Linked DNA regions of Homo sapiens: region 1 is linked to region 2. Evidence: promoter capture Hi-C in human tissues and cell types (Jung and others, 2019). All regions are on one chromosome and are shown on one strand. Each heading gives the region's core, a stretch centred on a gene start or on the middle of the fragment in contact. The rest is flanking DNA. Distances are from core to core; before and after follow the strand shown.

Region 1 (5,825 bases), core at 2,930-5,429, 2.0 Mb before region 2:
AAGTGAAACAGATATTTCTTAATGAACCATCTAGATCCAAACAGTCCCATTTATAGAAAGAGGCACATATAATTTGAAATGGTGAGTGAAAAACAGGGTAACCTAATATGTAGCAAGGACCTGAAAGATGTGTGACTCTCTCATATCAGATTATGAGGCTACCATCCACTGTCCGGGAGATCTGAAATTTAAGGTTCTCCTACTCTCACTCCCATCACCATAATACACACTTCAATGCCAACCACACAAGATAATCTACACGCTTACCAGTTTTTCGTCTAACGAGGTGTGAAAACAGAAAGCACCTGCTTTTGTTACTGGTATCTAATGTGGTTTTCTGACATCAGGCTTCACAAATTTCTTTCCCCTCCTCCATAATTCACTGAGCAATCTGGAGCCCCTTGGGGAAGGTGCTGAGTGAAAATCTGGTTAATGTAGCCAACAAACTCAATACTAAAGCCTTGGCCTCCTGATTTTTAACTTAAAGAAGTAATGAGTTGTTTAATTAGATAATATTTATTCCTGTGTGTGAAACAACTTGAGCTACTCTAAATTCTAGGTATATGGAAGGTGATGGATGACTTAAATGTTACCCAAACACATTTATGCCATTTGCCACAAACTCAGCCTAGAGTAAAAGGAACCTCAGTGTCCTACTTGCAGACTCATGCAAGGGATGCCTTGTGTCATTAGGAAGTGAGCCACACACTGGGCAGCCATGCTGTTCACGAGGGCAGGCCTGTGCCCCAACCCGTAGGTGGGTGGCCATTCCCTGCTGTTGACATATGGTGTCCCATCATTAGCCAGATGGCAGAAACACTGGAAAGGGCCTGAGCACACATGAGTAATCTAACCTGGCCATGGGAGGCGATTAGAAGAGGCTGGGTGAGGATCAAGGCAAGTAGTGTGTAGCCATGGAGGCTGACAGGGGAGTTTAAAGTGTTAAAGATGGGCCTGGGGTCAGCATGGATGACCTTTCTTCATCAGCACCACCTCAACTAACCCCAGCCTCTACGCATGTGCTGGAAGACAATTCTAACGTCACACAATTCCTTCTGTGCCCAAAGGAAATATCAGAGGTTTAGGAGAAAAAAACTTGCTGTGAGTAAAAGGTAGAATATTTTCTGAGATAGTCTCATGGAACTAACTAAACTAACTACTTCTCTCAAGATGTTTTTTCAACGGGGAAGATTTGTTCAGAGTCAGAGTTGACTAGATGATGCTTGATCAGCCCTAGAGGGTTCAGAGAGTCTCTAATACCTTTGAAATTGTATAAAAAACTGTATGTGTAGGATATAGTGTTAATTTTTCTAGGGAGAGGCTACATCTCTTGCCAAAAATCTTCAAAGGATTTGTCACTCCCCCAAAATATTTTGCAGCTACTGATCTAGAGGTTCAGGGAACCCTGCCTTTCTGATTATGGCAGAAAGGATCCTGAAAGGTCATTACAGGAAGTAGACTAGCTAATCACGGCCTTGTATTATGCCTGGACTTTGGGTACTCAATATTGCCTCTCAGCTTGACCAGGGTACAAGGCTTGTCCTGTCCCAGAGACAACTAGCAAGAGCATCTCATGTCCCTTGGACCAGCTCTGACTACAGTTCTTACCTAGCGTCAGCCCTGTACGCCAGCACCCTAGACCACAGCCCTTTAACAAGCCACTCAGAGTGAAAGCAAATGAACCACTGATGGAAGGACACAAGCAGATCCCCAAGCATGGCAGGTAGTGACATAATTGGTGACTTCTATTCCCACTAACAGGGACAAAGAAAAAACACTGTATAGGAAATAGACACTTGAGTTTTAAGCAACATTTTGCACTGGCCAGATGCATGACATTGGGTAGTTCACCTTCATGCATTTATTTCAGTTTCCCAATCTGTAGTATGGGGAAGCTGGGCTAGATTCCTTAGGCCTCCCTGGCTGAGGAGCTGACAGGCTGTGTCTGAACTCTGGTGTGTCCCTGTCTACAGAAAGGTATTTGGAGACAACTGGTCCTTATTAGGAGCCAGTTAATTTTTCTATCTTAAACACCAAGTTATATGTTTTAGAGGAGTATTTAGTTTTGCAGTCCATAGAAGTATTATGAGCAAATAGGCACATTCAAGGGGAAAAACAGCACTTGTGGGTAGCATCAATAATTCAGGGACAGGTTAATATGCTAATTAGGGCTGAAAACTAAAGAGTAAATATTTCTGAGTACAATGGGCACCTGATCTGTGGTTTCTGGTTTGAATTGTTCACAAATCTCCCTTCCCACTGCCAACCTCCTGTTCTGCTCTTAGCAGATGGGATATATTCAGACTCTTGGCCCATCAGCATACAGTCCCTAAAGTGTCTGAACTGTTGCTTTGGCATATTAGTGTTCTTACTCAGGTCTCCTGATCTTTTAAATCCAGGATCAGAGGAGGCGCCTGAATTCTCATCTCCTTTCTTTCCCTGGATGTCTCACCTGTGAGTGTCCAGTCCATCCTTATCCCACTTTCTCCTCCTGGGCTCACCAATCTTACCTTCTTCACGGGCCTTTTCTTTCTTTTTCTCCTTTCAAATCTTCTCAAATTTTCCCCATCTTAAAAACTAAACCAGTTTTCTCTGCTTTATTTGTTTTTTAGTCAACTATTAATCTTTTTCTTTCTTCTAGCCCCCAAACGCTTGGAGTAAGTAACTTACACCTACTCTTTCTACTTTCTTTGCCTTCTCCTTACCTCTGCAGTTTGGATGTTGATAAACTGTCCTAGAACTACTCTCTCAAAGACAGAGGATTTTCTGTGTCCCCCAAGTCTTTGCCTCTTGCATTTGCTATTATTGCAGGACAAGGACAGAGCTCTCTCTGTTGCAACTCCAGTACCAAACATTACCTGTGAGTTAGAAGCGGTTCAGCAAATCTTTGTTGAATACAGACTCTGTGGTCTTTTCCTTTCAAAAACTTCTTGTCCATCCATCCTTATGCATGCCCTGTGCTCCATCCTAGTCCAAGCACCCTTTGTCACACCTCCTATACCTGGTAACACTATTCTGGCTTGCTTCTTCAATTCCAATTCATCCTGCAGAGTATCATTTCATTTACATCTTCCTTGGGACTCACCCATGACTTCAATGACTATTGCTGCAAACTCAATCTTCTGAATTGGTATTTTTAAAATGTAATTAATTAACTGATTTATTATTATATTGATTAATTATAGATGCACAAGGTAAAACTGAACAAACAGATATCTAGAGAAAGAGAAGTCTTTCTCTCATCCCATTCTACCAGTTTTCTTTCCCATAAGCCATCACTGATAGCAGTTTCTTGTCCCTCCTTGCAGAGACTTTCTGTGCTAGACAATTGCTTCCTGATTGGACTATGGCTCACCATCATGCCTGGGGCCCTGTCTTGAATCCTAGCCAGTTGGGCTAGGGTCTTGTTTACCTCCTGGGCATTCTCCCATTGTGGGCTGTGCCATACATCCCCCCAGGCAATGATTTATGATTTGCTTCAATTGGCATAGTCTAAGATGATCCTTGCTCTTAGAAGAGTATCTGGGACTCCAGCGGCTGTGACCAGACATGCAGGTAACACTCCCCTGTGGGTATTATGAGGTATTCCAACACTGTTCACCCTCACTGGGGTGGACTTCCTTTCTGGTCAGTCCTCTATCCCAACCACGCTAATTCTGGCTTTACTCTCTCTGCAGCAACCAGAAATCGAAGAAAGTCCTAACTGGTTTTACTTTTGAACTGTGGTGAGTTGTGCTACGTGTTGACCTGATTTGCCAACAGATAAAATGAGATGACCATGTTCCTTTGCTTCTGCACTATTGCTTCACTGTCTAGCAGGACCTCTCTTTAGATGTCGCACTGGCAGGATTTGAGAAATAACTTGGGGCGTTAGACAGCTAATGTTTAAACCCTGTGTATGTGAATAGTGATAGCATCTGGGTATGGGAAGCTTAACGCCATTGTAGCCAGAGGGCATTTTCTGCTAAATCTGGAGAGAACAACCACTCTGGGAGCCTCTGACTAGACCCTAATGACAGCCTTAAGTTCGGAAAATATCCCTGTAATGATATCAAGAGTCTTAAAAACGGCCTCTGGGGAACATGAAAATTACTGCTTTAGTTTGATGCAAAGTACCTTAACTACAAATAGGAAGACTTTTTTGTCCTTTTAAAGTCCACCTAATGAACAACAGGCCTGAAAAGGTACTTAAAATATTGATTTGGAGGTACATTTTGATCAGTTGAACTGCGATATAATTGGCGATCGAAAGATGACACATCCATGAGAGAGACTACCCCAGTCCAGGGTTTCTCAAAGTGTGAGCCATGGATAACAGTCTTGCAAGATGAGATTTATTGGTCAAATATATAGGAAAAAACTGCAGTGAATCATCTTTCCTTCTTCCATGTTCACAATGTACATTAGCATATCAAGGATTCAGAGAAGTGTGTTAGTAAAACAACTTCTAAACTTTTAAATTAACCCTTTGTCTCCCAAACTTATTTGGCGAAAAAATGTTTTATGCATAGTGCCTGTTAGCAGCCTAAAGAACTAAGGTTCAGAGACACACACACTGGATAATGCTGCTTCAGTTTATTCATGCAAGTTAAATGATTTACGGTCATGCGATGCACAATGACGTTTTGGTCAGTGACAGACTGTATGGAATGATCGTCCCATAAGATTATAATACCAAATTTTTACTGTACTTTTTCTATATTTAGATATGTTTAGATACCCAAATGCATACTTACCACGGTGTTACAATTGCCTATAGTATTCAGTATTGTAACATGCTGTACAGGCTAGCTGCAATAGGCTATACCATATATAGCCCAGGTGCATAATAGGATATACCATCTAGGTTTGTGTAAGTATACTCCATGATGTTCACACAACAAGAAAGTCATCTGAAATGTACTTGTCAGAATATATCCCCATTGTTAAGAGAGACATGACTATATTAATAAACAAATAACTGGTTCCTCTAAATAATTCACATATTCATCATATTACAAACCAATAATACAATATGCCTATGTTATAAACCAATAACATAATATAATGAACTGGTGAAACATTTAGGTGAACCAGTTGCAATAAAGCTGTTTTTTAATATTATCTGTTATCTAACATTTACATTTGCTTTTTTTTTAAAGTCAGGTATTTAAAAATCGATTTTCCTTTTTTTTTGAGATGGAGTCTTGCTTTGTCACCAGGCTGGAGTGCAGTGGCACGATCTCGGCTCACTGCAATTTCCGCCTCCCGGGTTCAAGCGATTCCCCTGCCTCAGCCTCCCGAGTAGCTGGGACTACAGGCACATGCCACCATGCCTGGCTAATTTTTTTTATTTTAGTAGAGACGGGGTTTCACCATGTTGGCCAGGATGGTCTCGATCTCCTGACCTTGTGAATCCGCCTGCCTTGGCCTCCCAAAGTGCTGGGATTACAGGTGTGAGCCACCGCACCCGCCCTAAAAATCTATTTCTTTATAAGTTAAAGTCTTATTAGTTGATGCCTTTTGGTCCTTATTTTCTAGTGAATTCACCTGGAAGCCTCCTAAACCTCTGGCAGGAACCAGAGGGTTTGCTACTGCTCACTGATGTTTTTTCCTTACAACTTACTTAAGGAGATCTCAACCTCCTTAAGCCAAAATATTCTTTTATTATTATTATTTTTATTTCAATAGGTTTTTGGGGAACAGGTGGTGTTTGGTTACCTGAATAAGTTCTTTAGTGGTGGTCTCTGAGATTCTGGTGCACCCATCACCTGAGCAGAGCACACTGGACCTAATGTGCAGTCCTTTCTCTCTCACCACTTCCCACTCTTTCCCCCAAGCCCCCA
Region 2 (5,989 bases), core at 714-3,213:
ATATGTTTTTTATCATTCTTTGCTAGAATGTAAGCTCCAGAGGGAAGGGATCTTTGTCTCTTTTGTTCATTGATGCATCCCAAGCATCAAGGACAGGACGTGATAGAAAATCAATTTTTGTTGAATAAATGAATGAATCTAGGTTGAGTTCAGTAAAAAAATATCTCTGGAGTAAGTTAGTTTCCAATTTTATTTCTACAATTAACAAATACCTTCTGAGCTTCAATTATGGTGGAGATAGATTGATCATACCCTTACAAATATATAATATCAGATGGTGATTAAGTGCTACAAAGCCGAACCAGCAGTACAAGAGTTTGGAGAGCCAGACATTTTAGGTGAGGTAGTCACCTCTCTGAAATGATGGCAATTGTTTCAAGACTTAAATAAAGTTCTGTGCCATGCAGATTTGCGAAGAGTGGGAAAGTGAGCATTGAGCATACTGGAAATACCAAACGCAGACGCCCTGGGATGAGGGTCCGCTTGGCGAGCCCAGCAAGAGCAATAAGGCCTGAGTGGTGGAAGTGGGGTATGCAAGAACGTATCATTCTTGTTGCTTTTACCTGCTGCTTAATAACACGCATGTACTGTCTAGCAGGAAATAAAGAGATTACGTTTCACCTAGAATACTCATTCTCTGAGCCTAAGTGGCTCTTCTATTCCAGCCCCCAAATATCTGTATCAGCACATCATATAAGATTACAAAGCACAGAGTAATGACATTGTTAGAAACTCTTCACAGTAGCCCCAGGAGTCACGAAACTGACTTAACTAAGACCCACTGTCTAGTAAGGTGTAAAACCCAGCAGGAACGCAATACTAGGAAGGTGCAAAGCCAGGAGGCTCAATAAACGTTAAACAGTGTCTGGGGGAAAGAGCAACGATCCAGAGCACTGTTTGTGAACTCAACCACTTTTATTCAGCTCTGACAAGGTAAGTCGCCAAGCGCGGTACAAAGTAGCTCCATGAAATGCGTTTTGTTATAGTCCTGGTCTCGAACTGTTGCAACATTTTATGTAATTTTTGCAAAGAACAAAAGCAAAAAGTTCATTCTAAATTAGCCTTCCAACTCAGTTCTTTCTCCGCCAAGACGGAGCACTTGGAAAGTTTTCAATGTCTGAAAACCTCTATTTCCAGGGCTGAGCAGAGCACTATGTTGCGGCTTAAGACGCTCGGCGATTTCTTCCCATCCCTCCGCAGTTCCAAAACGGCTTCGCCTAACAAAGTCAAACTTTTCGCGCTATTCCTGGACATCAGGACCAAATGTCGAAAGCATATACTGCCACTGAGTTAGTGAGCCGGGCCGGTGCCCGGGACCTGGGGTACTAGATTTATGGGACGGGAGCCTAGGGGTCGAGGCCACAGAAATGAAAACATCGGCAACATATGCAGTGCAGCGAGTGGGTTAGGAGGGAGAAACTTCAGGCAGGACGCTCCCTCGGGACCTGTGACGCCCCCCCAGCCACACCAGACGTGGGAGCTTAGGATGAGAGCGGCCTCCGAGCAGATGATCACCCTGGAACGACGCCAAACGCGACCCCTACCAGAGGACTCGCGCATGCGCAGCGCAGCCTGGGCCGGCGGCCTGGGCAGGATGTAGTCGCGAGCAGCGCACCGGGCCCACGCCAGCGGAATTGCGCATGCGCAGGGCCGCCTCTGCCTGCGGCCTGGGCTGGGTGTAGCCCCGGAACCTAGCTCTTAACTCCCGCCAGCAGTTTTACGCATGCGCGACGACGCCTAGGCCTGTGGCACGGTCGCGGCTCTAGTCCCCTGGGCCCCTCAGCTGTCTCTGGCGGGGAGGTCGGGCCGCAGGGGCGGGGAGGGGTGGCCTGCCCCAGTGGTACCTGACAGCATCCCACGTCACGGCCGCGATCCCCCTCGGCCTCCCACACCACTCCTCCACCCTCTTACCTCCTCGCAGGCCGGAGCCTTGTCCGCTCCGCCTCCTGGGTAGCGGTTACTGCACGGTCAGGGGCCCGGCGCCGCGATGAGTTGGCGCCTCCCCCTGAAACGGCCCGGCCTCGGCGGGATGCGCTCGGGTGCCCGGCCGAGACGGAAACGAAGGGAGCGCAGACAAGAGGAGGGGGCTGGCGACGGCGTCTCGCCCCTCCTCTCCTCCCTAGGCTGCCCACCGCCGCCCCTCCCCTTTCTCGCAGACGCCCCCTCCCCTCGGAGTTGACCCCCGGGAGTCTCCCATTGGGGCCGCCTCCGCTTTTCCAGGGAGTTCCTCCGTGGGTCACCCCCACCTTCTCCAGGGTTATGTTCTCGCAAATTTTGGGAATTTGTGGATACCCGACCTAGAAGGATAAGGCGTGTATGATGCTGAGAGCAACCTTTTCCACAGCCCCTCTCCTCCAGCCTGCCCCAGCTTTTCTTCTATTGCTGGCCCCTCTATCTGGGGGCTCCGATCACTTCACGTTTTCACCCCATTGCTGTGGGGCGGAAGTCTTGTAGCCCCCTGTAGTACAAATGCTGAAATAATGAGGATGTGTGCTGGGGGGTTCAGGGGGATGACCTCAGTTACCTTGGGGCCAAGGGCTTCGAAAACAGCCACCTTCTCCCCTTATGATTATATTTTGCAGTAATTTATTATATTACACTGCACTTCTGTTGGCCTTTGTAGATTTAAGTAAAATGCACCACAACTTTGCAGTGTGCAATAATTTCTTCCACTGCACTACACTTAAATTGACCTGAGTGGGTTTTGGTTAAATGCTCAACAATTAAATGTTATTAGCTATTCCTGTGAAGTAAGCTACTTGCTTTTATACTGGCTGTTTCATGAGGACACTGGTTCCTCTACAGTGTAGAGCCAAAAGTAGTAAAGCCAAAGAGAAAAACTAACATTCCAAACCACAGTGACCGTGTCAGTCTGTTTCGTCTGGCTTTTGTCATTTCTTCGGAAAAACATCATTCTAAAATGTATAACTGCCTTTCTGCTACATAGGGCAGACATTTATCTCTATTCTCTGAGCATAGCCCACTGAGCCTCAGAAGGAGGCACGCAAAATGGTACACAGGTATTTCTTGTAGAGCTCTAAATGGAAGAAAAAGTAAGTATACATTAACAGGAAGTTGCAGCGATAGTGCAGAGAGGCATCGTGTGCCTGCCCCAAGTTTCTCCACTGGTTACATCTTATCAATGAAAGAAATTTATGAGTTAAACAGGTTTGCTCTCAGAAAAAGCTCACTTCAGTGATGATAGCTGGCATTTTTTTTTTAAGCACCTATTGTGTGCCAAGAGGTTTATCTTATTTGGAGCTCACAATAATCCTGTAAGGCAAGGATTATCCTTACTTTACAGATAAGGCAACTCAGGCCCCAAGAGATTAAGTTTCTTTCATCAGCAACCATGGCAAGATCTGTTTGCCTTGCGCACTTGGTCTTTTACGCATTATGGACAGCTGAAGTTCATGCAGGCCTTACGGTGTGCTTCAGCTGAAGCCTGACAATTAGCTAACAATAAAAACATGTCTTAGTGTTTTGAAAACTGTGATATTATCTCAGAAGTTAAAACTTTAAAATATACCTATAAAAGAATGTGTTTCACTAAAGATTTTAATTTTATATGGGTCCAACAGTTTTTCCCAGGGCGGTCAAAATTAAAAGTAAGAAGTAAAAATGTCTCCATCACATATAAGTTTCCTTCAACACTTTTGGATAATTTGGTCTACTAAACTTCACTGTATTGCTGAATTCAGTAGACTAAAAATTTAGACTCTGAGAGAGTATAGGTTAGTATTTCAGGAGTTAAAGTTCCCATCACCACATCTCCCAAGTTTACCTACATCTGTACCTGTGCACTCTATTCCTTCCCATTACTGGGAATGAGCTGTGCATGCTCTTATTTAAGTTCAACTCTTCCACCTTTGTATTAGATCCTGTCTTCCTTACAGTCTCAAGGTTTTCACTCAGGTAGTTGTCACCTCTCAATCCTACATTATTAATTTTTGTATCATTAATTTTTGGATCATTCCCATAAGCATATTAACATTGCGCAACATTTGCCTATCTTTTAAAAAGTTCCTTGATTATATGTCCCCTATCAGCTACCAATGTGTTCTCTGGTCTCTTCCAAAATGTCTTAAAAGAGTCACTTATACTAACTGTATCCTCATCCCCTCCTCCTATTCATCCTCTTTTTTTTTTTTTTTTTTGAGATAGAATCTTGCTCTGTTGCCCAGGTTGGAGTGCAGTGGCGCAATCTCAGCTCACTGCAACCTCCACCTCCCGGGTTCAGGTGATTCTCATGCCTAAGCCTCCCAAGTAGTTGGAACGGCAGGTGTGTGCCACCATGCCCAGCTAATTTTTGAATTTTTAATAGAGATGGGGTTTCGCCATGTTGGCCAGAATGGTCTAGAGCTCCTGACCTCAGGTGATCTATCCACCTCAGCCTCCTAAAGTGCCGAGATTATAGATGTGAGCTATCATGCTTGGCCCTCCTATTCATTCTTGAATCTATTTCAGCCAGGCTTTTGCCCCTACCCCTCCATTGAAACTCCTCTTGGCAAAGTCACCAATGACCTCAGAATTGCTAAATCAGTGGTTACTTTTCCATTATCTCACCTGAACTATCAGCAGCATTAGAAGCATTTGCTTACAGCTGCCATCTTGAAGCATTCATCTTCTTCTGTTGGCCTTCAGGTGGCCCCTGTCTCTTGGTTCGTCCATCTCACTGGCAGCTCCATTGGCTCATCCACCACTTCTCCAGCCATTGGCATACCCAGAGTTTGGTTCTTGGACTTCTCTATCTTCTCGTTCCCTTAGTAATTTTATTTCAAGACATGGTTTTAGTCCTGCCACTTCTTATGTCCTAACAAGTTCATGACACTACTCTTGTGAAACTAGGAGCCCTTGTCCTTTTCCAGCCCACAATGGGGATCTAGCTGCAATAAAAGTCTTCCCTTTCTTCCCTTTTTAAACCCCCTAATTACTTCTGCTTTTGGGGTATCTTTAAGCCTCCTTTAGTTATCCAAAAGCAGAGGAATTCATCTTGCTTTTTTCTTTTCAGGTATCCAGGCACCAAGGCCCTAATCACAAGAAAAGGTGGATGGGGCCGTCTTTTGACTTTTTCTTGGAAATTCAGAAAGTCTAATTACGCTTCAGGGAAGAGGAAAATGTTCTTTTTTTCCTCTTTGCGTCTCCAGAACAAAAATTTAGCACCAGTAAATTTCTACATCAGTCTGCTTGTTACAGATTGAATGCATGAATGAATGACTGCAAGCAGCCTGCACTTTGGTGCCCTAAGTGCCATTGATTAGGTGAATGACCTTGGGTAGCACCTTAGTTTTCTAGAACTTAAATTCCTTCAGACTCCATTAAATTGGTGCACTGCCCAGCTCTGTGTTTTGTAGAGGTATCAGTCACACTGCACCTTTACTGATGCATGCTATTACCATGCTGTATAGAATTGTGCATGTCAGCATGGTATTATAATTGGTGTTAGAATATAAAAGTGATAAAGATGATAATAGGCACATATACACTTACTGTGGCAATAGTGAAAGAATGACAAAATACCAAGAGGTGATCAGAGAAGGCTTTCCAAAACAGATTACTTTAGCATTAAGTTTTCAGTGTGGGCTGGGTGCCATGGCTCATGCCTGTAATTCCAGCACTTTGGGAGGCGGAGATGGGCGGATCACTTGAGGTCAGGAGTTCTTGATCAGCGTGGCCAACATGGTGAAACCCCGTCTCTGCTAAAAATACAAAAATTAGCCAGGCATGGTGGTGGGTGCCTGTAATCCCAGCCACTTGGGAGGCTGAGTCAGTGTGAGTTAGCTAAGAGAACAAAGGTTAGGGATGGAAGTGTTAGGGAAGGGAAGTAGTCTAAGTAGAATAAGAAATATGATGTGTTTGAGAATTATAAATTGCTCAGTAAGGCTGAAACAAAGGCTATATGGAGGGAATAGGGCAATGGTAGGAAATTAAAGTAACCATTCATTCATGAATGGACACTAAGGATGATTCTTTATCTCAACAATTGTGA

Evidence for each region. Contacts are between HindIII fragments. The study calls those that stand out against the background at their distance.
Region 1: a fragment that was not itself captured here is called in contact with the fragment with the promoter of RCBTB2 in region 2 in 1 of the 25 tissues and cell types used here (lymphoblastoid cells).

Annotation. Positions count from the first base shown.
Region 1 is chr13:46,542,721-46,548,545 of GRCh38, forward strand. No RefSeq gene overlaps it. Among named protein-coding and RNA genes, the nearest start is that of LRCH1, 7.5 kb to the right of the region's middle. The HindIII fragment of the contact is 4,868 bases long and covers 1,746-5,825 here.
Region 2 is chr13:48,531,117-48,537,105 of GRCh38, forward strand. It overlaps RCBTB2 (RCC1 and BTB domain containing protein 2), which reads right to left and starts at 1,964. Exons shown (of 15, transcript NM_001268.4): 1 at 1,912-1,964. LOC124903174 (a long non-coding RNA gene) reads left to right here. Exons shown (of 2, transcript XR_007063795.1): 1 at 1-933. RefSeq lists enhancers at 280-449, 1,340-1,579 and silencers at 1,620-2,019, 2,130-2,179. The HindIII fragment of the contact is 15,092 bases long and covers 1-5,989 here.